Linked DNA regions of Homo sapiens: regions 1 and 2 are each linked to region 3. The links are contacts of gene promoters, found by promoter capture Hi-C in human tissues and cell types (Jung and others, 2019). All regions are on one chromosome and are shown on one strand. The core of a region is centred on a gene start or on the middle of the fragment in contact, and the rest is flanking DNA. Distances in the headings are between cores, read along the strand shown.

Region 1 (3,833 bases), core at 340-2,839, 520 kb after region 3:
ACCACCTGTTCATAATGTCTCCACTATTATGAACTCTATTACAAATTATTTATTGTAAGTGTTCCAAAGCTTTGTAAGAATGGATCAGATCTCTCTTAAGTAAACATACTTTTCTCTATATAACATAATGCCTATTAAGTATCGTTCCCATAAATTCAGATGATATCATGATTAGCTCTTTAAAAATATAACATTGATCTCATATGCAAGAAAAAAGTTCATAAGATATTATAATATTCTAAAAGATTATAAAGTGTATATTAAATATAAAATATAAGCCCTTTTCATCTATGTTTTAAAATCACTTTAAAATTTTGAATCCTTTTAAAAAATTATTATAATGCTGGGTGCAGTGGCACACCTATAGTCCCAGCTACTTGGGAGGCTGAGCTGGGAGGATTGCTTGAGCTGAGGAGTTCAAGGCTAGCCTGGGCAATAAAGTGAGACCCCATCTCTCTATATAAATAAATCAATAAATATTTATTAAGAGAAGAATATTAAACCAGGCTTTTCAGTGACTCATTTAAGATTTCTTAATTTTTTAAGACCCAGCAGGATTTTGCCCTTGTTTATGTGAAAAAGAGTTAGAGAAATACTCTTTTTATTATTAAAAGTTTTTTTAGAGATTTAAAAAGATTATTTAAATTTGTATTATGAAAACTTCTATCAGATTAAGTGAAGATTTACTGAACATCTACTATCAGTAAGACAAAAATAAGACACAGTTCCTAGTCTTGTGGATACTTACAGATGCAACGGGGTGGGCAGAAAATTATAGTGCAGTATAGTGATACTGGTGCCTAAAGGGCCCAATGGAGCAAACAGAACCTCTACCCCAGATTTGGGAGAAGGGAGCAGGAAAGGTCTATTTAGAAAAAGTCACCTGATAGGCCAGGTGTGGTGGCTCACGCCTGTAATCCCTTTGGGAGGTCGAGGCAGGTGGATCACCTGAGGCCAGGAGTTTGAGACCAGCCTGGCCAACAAGACAAAACCCCATCTTTACTAAAAATACAGAAATTAGCTGGGCGTGGTGGCACGTGACTGTAATCCCAGCTACTCAAGAGGCTGAGGCAGGGGAATCGCTTGAACCTGGGAGGCAGAGGTTGCAGTGAGCCAAGATGGTGCCCTTGCACCACTCCAGCCCGGGCGATAGAGCGAGACTCTTGTCTCCAAAAAAAAAAAAAAAAAAGAAAAGAAAAAGAAAAGAAAAGATCACCTGATAGAACCTATAGCCTTCAGTAGAAGTTTGCATCCAACCCATGGCAACTCACCAGTAGAGAGTGAGCTGGAGAAACATATTTCTGATCTCACTTTTCCTGCTCTCCCCATCTGCTGCAATATCTACGATTGGCTGATTCCAACCCACAGTCTGAGAGCAAGGGAGCCCTTTGATGCATTCCATTCAGGGCACCCTCCTGGGGCACAGAGCATTGGAGGATGGAGACCACTTCTAATATGACATATACACTCTTTTTGTGAATGCCACATTAAAATAGTGCCCTTCACATTGTATGAGAACATTCTAGCCTAATTCGTTTGCAATGCAGGAAAGCCATTATTATAGAATAATCATGGTTTCTCAGCACATTCTTTGAAGGATTCTATTAAACCAGTGTGGAACTAAGAATGAATAGTATACGACAACAGTTTTTAAAAATCCAAAATTGAGTTGTACGTTATGTATTAATAGAAATGTGGGAAATGCAACTTAATTATTATATGTTTCTTGACGGTGGTTCCTGAGTTTTTCACCGGAGCCTAAGCTTGATTGTTTTTGGAGGTATTCTGGCATTAGCAAAGGGTTGGTAAAATTGTGGCAGATCTAAAAATTCCACTGAATCAATTATTTCATTGGGAGTGTTGGGTGTGTGCTTTGGAGTCAAAACAAAGCTCATGCCTCAATGCTAAAATATTGTAGCAAATCGGACTGCATGAAAGAGGCAAAGGTATAGTTTTTATAAAGATCCCTAACCTGATGCTCAGCATACATAATCTAATGGGCATGGAATTCCTTCGCGAAATGTCAGAGTCACCTTATACTGAAATTATACATGTTGCCTTGGTATTTAAATGCTTGAGCAAATATAAAAGAAAAAATATAGAAAATTAAATTGTGATTTCTTTTTCATTTTAACATTAAAGTTAAGGATCATGAAGAATCGTATGAAATGATGGTAGAAGATATTTAATATTTTTATATAACTAAATAAAAATTATCACTGCCCCTTCCCCCCACCCCTGGCAAAAAATGAATCCAACCAGACCAGGCCAATCAAACAAACACTCAAAACAAAAGCCCTGAAACAATAATGACTTCTCACTATGTTTGGATGCACTGTTTCATTCTAAACTAGATTTGGGGAGCCATCTGCTGGCAAATTGGTAAGTTGTTTATTTTTTTTTTATTGCATGTACAGTTAGGGTTGCCAGATAATTTATAGGATGCCCAGTTAAATCTGAATTTTAGATAAACAACAAATAATTTTTTAGCATAAGCATGCCAATACAGTTCAGTATTTACTCCATATGCCAATGCTACCCTGTTTCATTTTTTATTTTTTTTGAGACAGGGTCCGGTTCTGTCACCCAGGCTGGAGTGCAGTGGCATGATCTCAGCTCACTGCAACCTCTGCCTCCCAGGCTCAAGTGATCCTTCCAACTCAGCCTCCCAAGTAACTGGGACTACAGGCATACGCCACCATGCCTGGCTAATTTTTGTATTTTTTTGGTAGAGATGGGGTTTCGCTATGTTGTCCAGGTTGTTCTTGAACTCCTGAGCTCAAGTGATCTGCCCACTTCAGCCTCCCAAAGTGCTGGGATTGCAGGCGTGAGCCGTAGAACCTGGCTCCTACCTGGTTTTAAATTTAGAATTATATGTTTCCAAGTGACTCAGAAAAAGGTTTTCTTGAAATCTGGATAGCATGATTATTTAGGATTGCTCAACTCATATGGTTCTATTCACACTGCTCCAGTTTGAACTGCTTGCCTTTCCCATTGAACCCTACATCTGACTCCTTGTCTATTCTCTTTTTCTTCTGCTTTCTCTATTCTTAATTGAGCTCTGCTTCCTAGCCTGTGTATTTCTTTTTTGCTGCTACATTCTCATGTTTAAGCAATCTGGGTCAATTACAACAGATAAATGAAAAACCAGAAGATAACTGTGTTCTGGTAGTACCTTAGTTATAGAGTCTACTTCTTTAAAAAAGTAAAATAAAAGGCAGACACATGCATATTTTATATTTGACCCTAAAAATGTCAATTTATTATCAAGCTATCTTGCTCTGACTGAAAAAATTAATAAATAAAAATTGACCAGGCATGGTGGCTCACACCTGTAATCCCAGCACTTTAGGAGGCTGAGGCGGGTGGATCACTTGAGGTCAGGAGTTCGAGACCATCCTGACCAACACAGTGAAACCCCCGTCTCCACTAAAAATACAAAAATTAGCCGGATGTGGTGGAGGGCGCCTGTAATCCTAGCTACTTAGGAGGCTGAGGCACAAGAATCACTTGAACCTGGGAGGCAAGGGTTGCAGTGAGCCCAGTGGCGCCACTGCTCTCCAGCTTGGGCGACAGAGTGAGACTCTGTCTCAAAATAAATAAATAAATAAATTTTAAAATAAAAAAAATTAGTTTTGTGTTTGAATTAGTAATATATTCACATACTCCTAAGTTTTTTTTAATACAAAAGGATATTCAGTGAAAAGTCTCCCATTCCTAACCTTCAGATACCCAAAAGTTCCTTGATGCAGAGGCACGCATCGTACTTGAGATGTATGTACTCAGCCATCTTGGGGAAGGACATTATTGTAAAGTGGAAGGATGCAGGAGGG
Region 2 (4,255 bases), core at 1,005-3,504, 630 kb before region 3:
AAGATTATGGCCCTGTCCTCATAATTGAGGGTATTCCAAGAATATCTGGAGGAATCTTAGAGTTCTGTTTTTTTATTGAATTTGACATATTATGAATTCAATTCTTATTGTTCATGGAATATAATTCATATTAATTGAAGAAAAATAATTCAGACTATGGCCTGAAATTACAAAAGCATGCTAACTTTCATGTGAGCTGACAGTTCTTGTCCACCAGGGGGCAGTCCACTCATTGAAACCAAGGACAGAAATAACTAGAATAAATAAAACCTGTAACTTAAAAATAAAACGCATTTTAAATAAGTTTCAGTTTCAATAAAACTTTTATAGAGATACAATGACATAGAAGAACCAGTCCTTGTTCCTGCCTTCTGGTAGACAGACAATCAAGAGACAGAATAAAGCAAAAGGTAGTACTAATCTACAATCCAGTCTCAGGGCCATCTAGATAAATGAGGGGCCTGGGGGCACTCTATGAAGTGAACTGAACCAAGGCCAAATTCACTGTACAGAACAGGATTTAAATGCAAGAGAACTAGTGACAATCAGAGGGAGTATTAAGTCTTCAATTACATAGATGTTCATCAAAGGGCATTTTATAATGCCTGCCTCCTCTAAAATGTGGTGAAAGCAGCAGTAGCTGTAATAGCAGAACTATGAGCTTCTCAGTTAAGAAATGCATCCCCAAGTTCAGGACTACTGGTCCTTATCTTGGCAAATCTAAAGGACTTCACATCCGAATAAATAAATGACTGTTTCATATGCCAAGAAATGACATTTAGCCTTAAAATAGATACATCCCACTGCCAGAATACAGAAACCATACTTCATGATAGAATAAAATCAAACATTTTAAACTCTGAGCTTTCTTTGCATCTTGGTGAAGCCGATTTGGTGGATTAGATTTTTCCTAGCAAGGAACTAAGGAACAGTTGAGTTCAAACATACTATTACATAATCTGCAATTATCCAGGAACCAGTGGAGTATAGTAGAAAGATCAATGACCTTGGTGTTAAAAGAGCCAGTCATAAATCTTAGTGTCTCTACTTTTCATTTATATACCCTTGGGCAATATATATGTAAGGGAGTTTTGCAAAACTATGTGGAGCACGATATCATACATTCACAAGGTTTTATTAATTACAAAGGACTTTTCAACACAGTGTTTCCTCATAAGATCTTCCTTAGATGGAATTTTGCAAGGGTTAAATGAGATAATTCACATAAAGCACTTGGAGGGTGCCTGAGAATCAGAATAAGAATGCAATGAATGGCAGTTATTATTAATAGTAGTAGTATTAGTTTGACCCTCATGCCAATCCCGTGTGCTAGAGATTGTCATCTCCACATTGCGAGATTTTAAACAACTGCAGCCCAAGAGAAATAAAGTGACTGGTCTAAAGTCACAAAACAGGAATATTAGAGCCTGGACTGAAGCTCATGCATGTTTTCCCTTTTCCAGCATACATTCAGGACACTATTTACAATGAGCTTGAGCAGTATCACAAGGAAGAGGGTTTTTTCCCTTTGAAGTGAAAGCCCAAGTGGATGCCCCACCATTGACTTTCCCACTCTTCTGGTCCTGGCCTCGTAGAGTCCCTGACCCCAAGAGCTCCTTCAATGCATCAGTATAGAACAGAGGCTCTTAACCTTCATTGCACATAAGAATGCTCTGGCGAGTTTTTAAAAGTACTGAGTCTCAGACCCCAAAGCAGTCTAATGAAATCGGAATGTTCTGTAGGACATTTCTTCCTCGTCCACTCTAGCCACAGTTACTATGCCTGAATCTGGAACTCAAAGTCATTTCCCCCAACTCCAAACACAGCACCCTTTCTGCTGCCACACGTGAACACTGTCAGCCCCAAGAAGGGAGCCACCAATTACAGAAAAACAAGACTTTAAAAAATGGAAGATGTCAAAGAGATGGATTGCCAGGAAAATATAAGGGGTTTAGGGGACAAGGTGCCTGAGGAGGGGTCAATCTAAAGAGAATGAATAGACATGCAGGTATTGGCTCACTTTTCCAGACATGGGGGATGCATGTAGCATGAATCATCCCCCTAAACTGGATACAAAAAAAAAAAGAACTAGTATACTGGTTGACTGCATCGTGTCTTTGTGGAAATAGGGCAGAATCAATCGGCATTGGCCAGGCTCAGTGGCTCACGCCTGTAATCCCAACACTTTGGGAGGCCGAGGCAGGCAGATCACCTGAGGCCAGGAGTTCAAGACCAGCTTGGCCAACATGGTGAAACCCATCTCTACTAAAAATACAAAAATTAGCTGGGTGTGGTGGTGAGTGCCTGTAATCCCAGCTACTCGGGAGACTGAGGCAGGAGAGTACTTGAACCTGGAGGCAGAGGTTGCAGTGAGCCAAGATCACACCACTGTATCCCAGCCTGGGTGAAAGAGTGAGACTCCATCTCAAAAAAAGAAAAAAAAAAAAGAATCAATTGGCATTCCAGGCAACTCTCAAATGAAACTTCCTTGATAGTGATTGCTATTGAACACAGATGTGTGCTTCTGAGGCGGAGAAGGGGTGGTAAATTTTTTGTACTTCATAAGAGTATAACAGAGTAATCAATCTGAATGTGAATGTCTAGTAGAATCCATTAACCAACATATTTTTACTAGTCAAGCTAATGGATATCCTTCTTAGCTCCAAACTCACCTTTGAGAAAATGCATGCCACTGAGGTCAAGTAATCCTGATAAATTGAGATCAGATTCATTGTCTAGATAACCATAAAATATGGAGATCTCTTCTCATGATCTTCCAATGACAGTCTACCAAGCCCTCTCCTTATCCCCCATCCCCAAATGCAGCAGGCACTGTTTCTTGCTGGCAGTGGGATCAGAACCACTGTCAAGAGATCAGAGGATTAGAGTGGCAAGCTCTGGTCAGAACAGTGAAGTTTTCCAGATGTCCAGGCTGCGAATGCTGGCAGGATTCTCACTTCTTTTCAGGGCTGATATTGGAGGTGGAATCCTCCTCCTTAATGTAATTTCTCCCCCAGATCTGGCAGCAAGTTCTCAAGTTTTGTCTCAAGTGGGAGAAGTCCAAGTTATGTCACTGTTCAAAAAATATTTATTTCTTCCCAAAACCCAACAAGAAAACTCTACTCTGTCGCCTCATAGGTATGTTTCCTTGCCCTGTGCCAGGCCTCAAATGTGTGGGCCCTTTTTCAGGTTGTAGTGCAGCTCCTGCTCGGCTTCTGGGGTCTGTAAGTTACTCTGTCTTGGGTTAGCCATTGCCTTTTTATGCAGAGTGCTGCCTTGTATGCGATCAGCTAGAAAAATCTTAAAAAAAAAAAAAAGGTTGGAGGGGGCATAGCATTCTCACTTCAGAGGGATAAAGACGAGAAGAACAAAAGTTTTAGGCAGATGACAATGGATCCTGTCAATTAGACTAGGTGAAGTTAAAGCAAATGAATGCTTTACTGAGGAAGATGGAACATGGGGAGGGAAAGAAAACGAGGCTGGAGGAATCCAACTACAATGGGAGTGACACTGATTATCCGAAGAGACCTTTAAGAGCACGTGCGCCAGTCCCAGCAATGCCCTGATAAAGAGCTACAATACAAAAGCCTGCGCCTTGCTCACCCAAGGATCACAAATAACCAGAATTCCCAGGAAAAACTCATGTTTCAATCTAGCAGGAGCCCAACTAAATACAACCAAATGCCAAGCTGGGCACTCTTCTGGGGGAAATCAAAGGGATGGGAACATGAGTGGCAAGAGGAACTCAGGGTCCCTTTTTAATGTCTCAATAGAAGAAAGGAAAAAATAGGCAGACCTAAGACACACCCTTGTTTTAAAATTTTTATCACAAAGGGCAGGATGGGATATGTCCATTCAGGGAGCATCACTTTGCTCCACTGGTTTCACCAGCAGGGGCTGCTTGTGTGTGCAAGGAGGGGCCTGAGATATATGGCTGTGCAGATCACATCATTTGTAGTGATTTATTGGTTAAGAAATAAAGCATGATGGGTGGGTGTGGCTACCATAGGGTAATCACACCCCCAGGGTGAGACTATACTACACACTACCAAATTCCCCCCAGGGGTGTGATTAGCTCATAAAACCCTGCCTCCCAGAACTGCCAGACTCTTTAATGTCATTTATTTATTAAAAAAGAGTGGGCCAGTTGAATCTGTTCCATACAGTGTGACTGTCACTGAGGCTGGTCTTTCTGTAAAACAAGAGAAACAAATAAATCCGAAGCCCAAGGATCTGCTATCTGCTAGTGCTTCCT
Region 3 (3,931 bases), core at 552-3,051:
TGATTTTGGCTACAGATGCTTCCAGAACACCTAGCCTTAGGACGGTGCTTCAGTTAACCTCACTCTTTAGAGTGATGCCCCAAGTTTTGCTAAAGCTAATTTCAGTCACTCCCACATCAGCGGTCAAGTGACAGCAATAGGAGATAAGACAATGCCATGCGCTAATGACTGGGATTCCATACATCACAAGACTGCAAATATCCTAGCTATCCTTTAAAAAAAAAAATCTGACGCTGTCTTTCAGATACATCTATCCATGCACACTTGTAGGAGGAAAATCATTTCAAGGGAAATGCAAAGGTGCTTTCAAAACTGAGCTAATAACCCCCTATTTCAGTTAGCTACAAGGTCAGAGATGAACAAGGATAAGTGAAGAGGAAGGAGGTTCCCACACAGAAACCATACACAAAATGATTAAGCTTTAAGAAATACATTCAAGAGGCTAAAAACCAAGTGTGCAAGTGGTGGGAGTGGAGAAGAGAGAAGAACCCCTTAAGACCATCAGAAACCCAAGTAATGGAGGCGGAGAATTAGCGAACCTAATTGTTTCCCTGCGATTTAGGTCAGCCCTTCCCCCTCCATTCTACAGCTAGGTGGGAGTCTGAGAAGCAAACAATGAGTTGACAGGTTATAGCCCTTAAAGGGAAACCAGCAGCCATTCCCCGGAACCGGAGGCTCGAAAAAGCCCAAGTTCGAGGGAACTCATGAGTAGGATGAATGATTTCCCTGGATAACGGGATAGATGGAACTGAGATACTGCCTCTCTTCCAAATTTAAGGCAATTGTGGACGGATGGGCAAGAAGGCGACAGGCACCGCTGGAACAGGAGCCCAGGGAGTAGGTACCACGAAAATGCAGGCTCCTCCCTTCCTTGTAGGCGCGCCCCGCATCACCTACAGGGGAGGGGGCGGGGCGGGGAGCCCCCGAGGACTCAAGCTGGGGAGCGGCGTGCACTGCCGGCGGCCGGCGCATCCTGGGCCCCACGCCCTACCTGGGCCGTGAGGGGAAACAGCAGCAGCAGCGCGCAGGCAGGCGCTGGCACCGAGCCCAGAGACTCCTCTTCCAGCCCCAGCACGTCCACGAAGCGCCACTGGCCGGCGACCCCCAGCCGGGACAGCACCTGCGGAGAGGAGACAAGGCGGCCAGGCGCACGGGGACACGCGGGTCGCGGGCACCTGCCAGGGGGCGGGGCCAGGAGGCGCGCGCCCTCCGCGCCCGCACCCGAGCCTGGGAGGAGCCCCAGTCCCGCCCTGCCACCCCCACCCGGGCCGGCGCAATGACACAGCACAAAGCGCGGCCCACACGTGGCGCCCGCGAAGCCCGTGCAGCCGAGTCTGTGCTGCCCGCGCCACGCCCTCGGGAGCTCCGCCTGGCGCTCGCTCGCCACGGGGCGCAGCCCCCTCCGTCTCCCCGTGACCGGTTTCGTAGAGTCACCCGCTAAATGCAGGGGCCCAGGAAAGGCGCCCAGCCCACGCCCCAGCCCGGCCGTCTCCGGTGCTCGCAGCGGGCGGCTTGGTCCCTGCCAGCAGCCGGAACCGGTGGGCGCCCCCGCCTCGGCGCTCGCGGGGGAGGGGGCCAGAGACGGCGCGAGACGCCACTCACTTTGTTCAGCATCTGAAAGGCAAATGCAAAGAAAAAGGCAAAACCGAACCGATCAGCGACTCGGCTCCCCCTCCCTCGGCCTCGCGCTCTCCGGGTAGCGGTGCACCTGGCGCTCACCTCGGGGTTGATCTCCATCGGCTTGAGCTGCATCTTCGCGGAGCGCCCGGCAGAAATAGCCTAGGGAAGACGAAAAACAGCTAGCGGAGCCGCCCAGGCTGCAGCTATAAAGCGCCGGCCAGACGCACTGTGAGGCCTGTGCAGGGGGAGCAGGGGCAGAACCAAGCGAGGGGGAAACGGACGGTCGCGGCCAGATGGGTACGAACCCCCCGTGCGCAGCGCGGAGTGGTACGGCCGGGCCCCCAAACCTTGCAGTCTCACTCGCCGGTGAGATAATCTGGTGGTTGTGGAGACGGGATTTGTTGGTGGGTGTTCCTTGAGTGTATGGAGCAGTCCTTTTGATGGAGTCTTTAATTTTGGGCGAAGTTTCTGGAAACCCATCCTTTCACCATCCCAATTACTCTAAAGCTCGAGTCTCTGAAGCATTTGAGAAAAAGCACAAATTCAACAGGTATATATTTAATACGAATGAATGTAAATGTGTGCCCCCCGCCCCAAATCTCTCAGCAGTTTGCGTTTAACCTTAGACAATTCCTCCTCCATGTTAAGTCAGACCAGTACCGAGGTTCGTTTTTAAGTGACTACCTAGAATAAAACAGAATCTGGTAGATAACAGATACTGCATTAGGAATGCTGATGTAATGTGACTCCCGCGGAAGAAATGGTTGGTCCTGGGAGAGCAGTAGAAAGCTGGGGGATGTGAGGGTAATACAAGACACAAAGAAGGCAGGCGATTGGAGACTTGAGAAAACAGATCCAGGGAAAAGATGGGTATGATTTTGAGCGAGAGGCTGTAAAAGGAAAAGCATTTTTAAAAGAATGGGAAGCTTTGAAAAATAAAATGTCTGAGTTCACCGCAGAATACTCCCAATGAAGAAGAAAGGGAATGGCAACCAAGGAAACCACTGTTCTCTAATGATCTCAGGTGATCTCTAATGATCTCTAGTCAAAAGATGGAGAGAGAAAGCATTTGCTGAAGAATGAATTTTAAAAGGGACCAAAATCTATAAGAATTGTGCCAGGAAAGCTAAGCTGCAGAACAAAGTGGGCTTGCAGAAATACTTAGGTAGCGAAGGAAGCAAGAAGGTTGAGTATTTTTTAAAAATAGGCACCGAAGAGAATAATGATGATGGTAAAAGAATAGACCTTCTATTTAGGAAGTTGAGGTTAACAGATGACAGAGGGAAGGGAGGGAATCAACATTTTTTGAGTTATTGTTTTTGGGGATCCTTTGCATGTGTCTCTCATTTAATCCTTAGAGGAGCCGTGAAGAGACTCATATTAGTGCAATTTTACAGATCAGAATCCCAGGCCTAGAGAAGTTAATTTGCTTACGGTCACAATTGAAAAGTAAAACTGAGAAGTAAACCCTGCTAAACTGGGCTCCAAGAGCCCATTCTTTATCTAAGATTCCACAACATTCTACTTCTATTTTCTTTCCATTTTTGCCATTAGAAAATGACCTTCACACACAAAAATGAGAGAGAAAAAAATTAGTAAGAGGAGCTTAATGGGTGAATCTTATGGTATGTAAATTTTCCCTCAATAAGGTTGTTAAAGAAAAAAAGAGGTGAAGGTCAAGACAAGTGACTAGGTTATATTGAATGAGTTCTTGCCTTTAGACAAAGACAAATTACATTTCCAATTTACTTCATTTATTCATTCACTCAACAAATATTAAGAACCTACTGTGTGCTGGGTGCCGAGCTTGGAAAGTTTGGAATTAGGCATACAAAGATGAACACAATAAACATGGAAATTTCCCTCATGCCGTTTTTTTGTTTGTTTGTTTTGTTTGTTTTGTTTTGAGACGGAGTCTCGCTCTGTCGCCCAAGCTGGAGTGCAGTGGCGCGATCTCGGCTCACTGCAAGCTCCGCCTCCCCGGTTCACGCCATTCTCCTGCCTCAGCCTCCGGAGTAGCTGGGACTACAGGCGCCCGCCACCACACCCGGCTAATTTTTTTTGTATTTTTAGTAGAGACGGGGTTTCACCGTGTTAGCCAGGATGGTCTCATCTGCTGACCTCGTGATCCGCCCGTCTCGGCCTCCCAAAGTGCTGGGATTACAGGCGTGAGCCACCGCGCCTGGCCCCCTCGTGCTGTTTTTATCAGTCATAAGAGTTGTATGAAAGGGAGCAGAGATCAGGAGCACCTAACCTAGTGGAGGGGATCAGGAAGGCGTCCTGAAGGAAGTGACATTTAAGCTAAGGGCTG

What was found. The method cuts DNA at HindIII sites, captures the fragments that hold promoters and counts their contacts. A contact is called where the count stands out against the background at its distance.
Region 1: a contact is called between a fragment that was not itself captured here and the fragment with the promoter of UCHL1 in region 3, in 2 of the 25 tissues and cell types used here (hippocampus and lymphoblastoid cells).
Region 2: a contact is called between a fragment that was not itself captured here and the fragment with the promoter of UCHL1 in region 3, in 2 of the 25 tissues and cell types used here (dorsolateral prefrontal cortex and mesenchymal stem cells).

What each region holds. Positions count from the first base shown.
Region 1 is chr4:40,735,628-40,739,460 of GRCh38, reverse strand. No RefSeq gene overlaps it. Among named protein-coding and RNA genes, the nearest start is that of NSUN7, 12 kb to the left of the region's middle. The HindIII fragment of the contact is 5,767 bases long and covers 1-3,833 here.
Region 2 is chr4:41,884,261-41,888,515 of GRCh38, reverse strand. All of the region lies in intron 1 of LOC124900696 (a long non-coding RNA gene), which reads left to right. Among named protein-coding and RNA genes, the nearest start is that of LINC00682, 3.8 kb to the right of the region's middle. The HindIII fragment of the contact is 7,578 bases long and covers 1-4,255 here.
Region 3 is chr4:41,254,798-41,258,728 of GRCh38, reverse strand. UCHL1 (ubiquitin C-terminal hydrolase L1) reads right to left here and starts at 1,801. Exons shown (of 9, transcript NM_004181.5): 1 at 1,720-1,801; 2 at 1,603-1,614; 3 at 992-1,120. The coding sequence starts at 1,752. UCHL1-DT (UCHL1 divergent transcript) reads left to right here and starts at 2,002. Exons shown (of 3, transcript NR_102709.1): 1 at 2,002-2,170. RefSeq lists an enhancer at 591-1,091 and a silencer at 926-1,685. The HindIII fragment of the contact is 4,741 bases long and covers 1-3,931 here.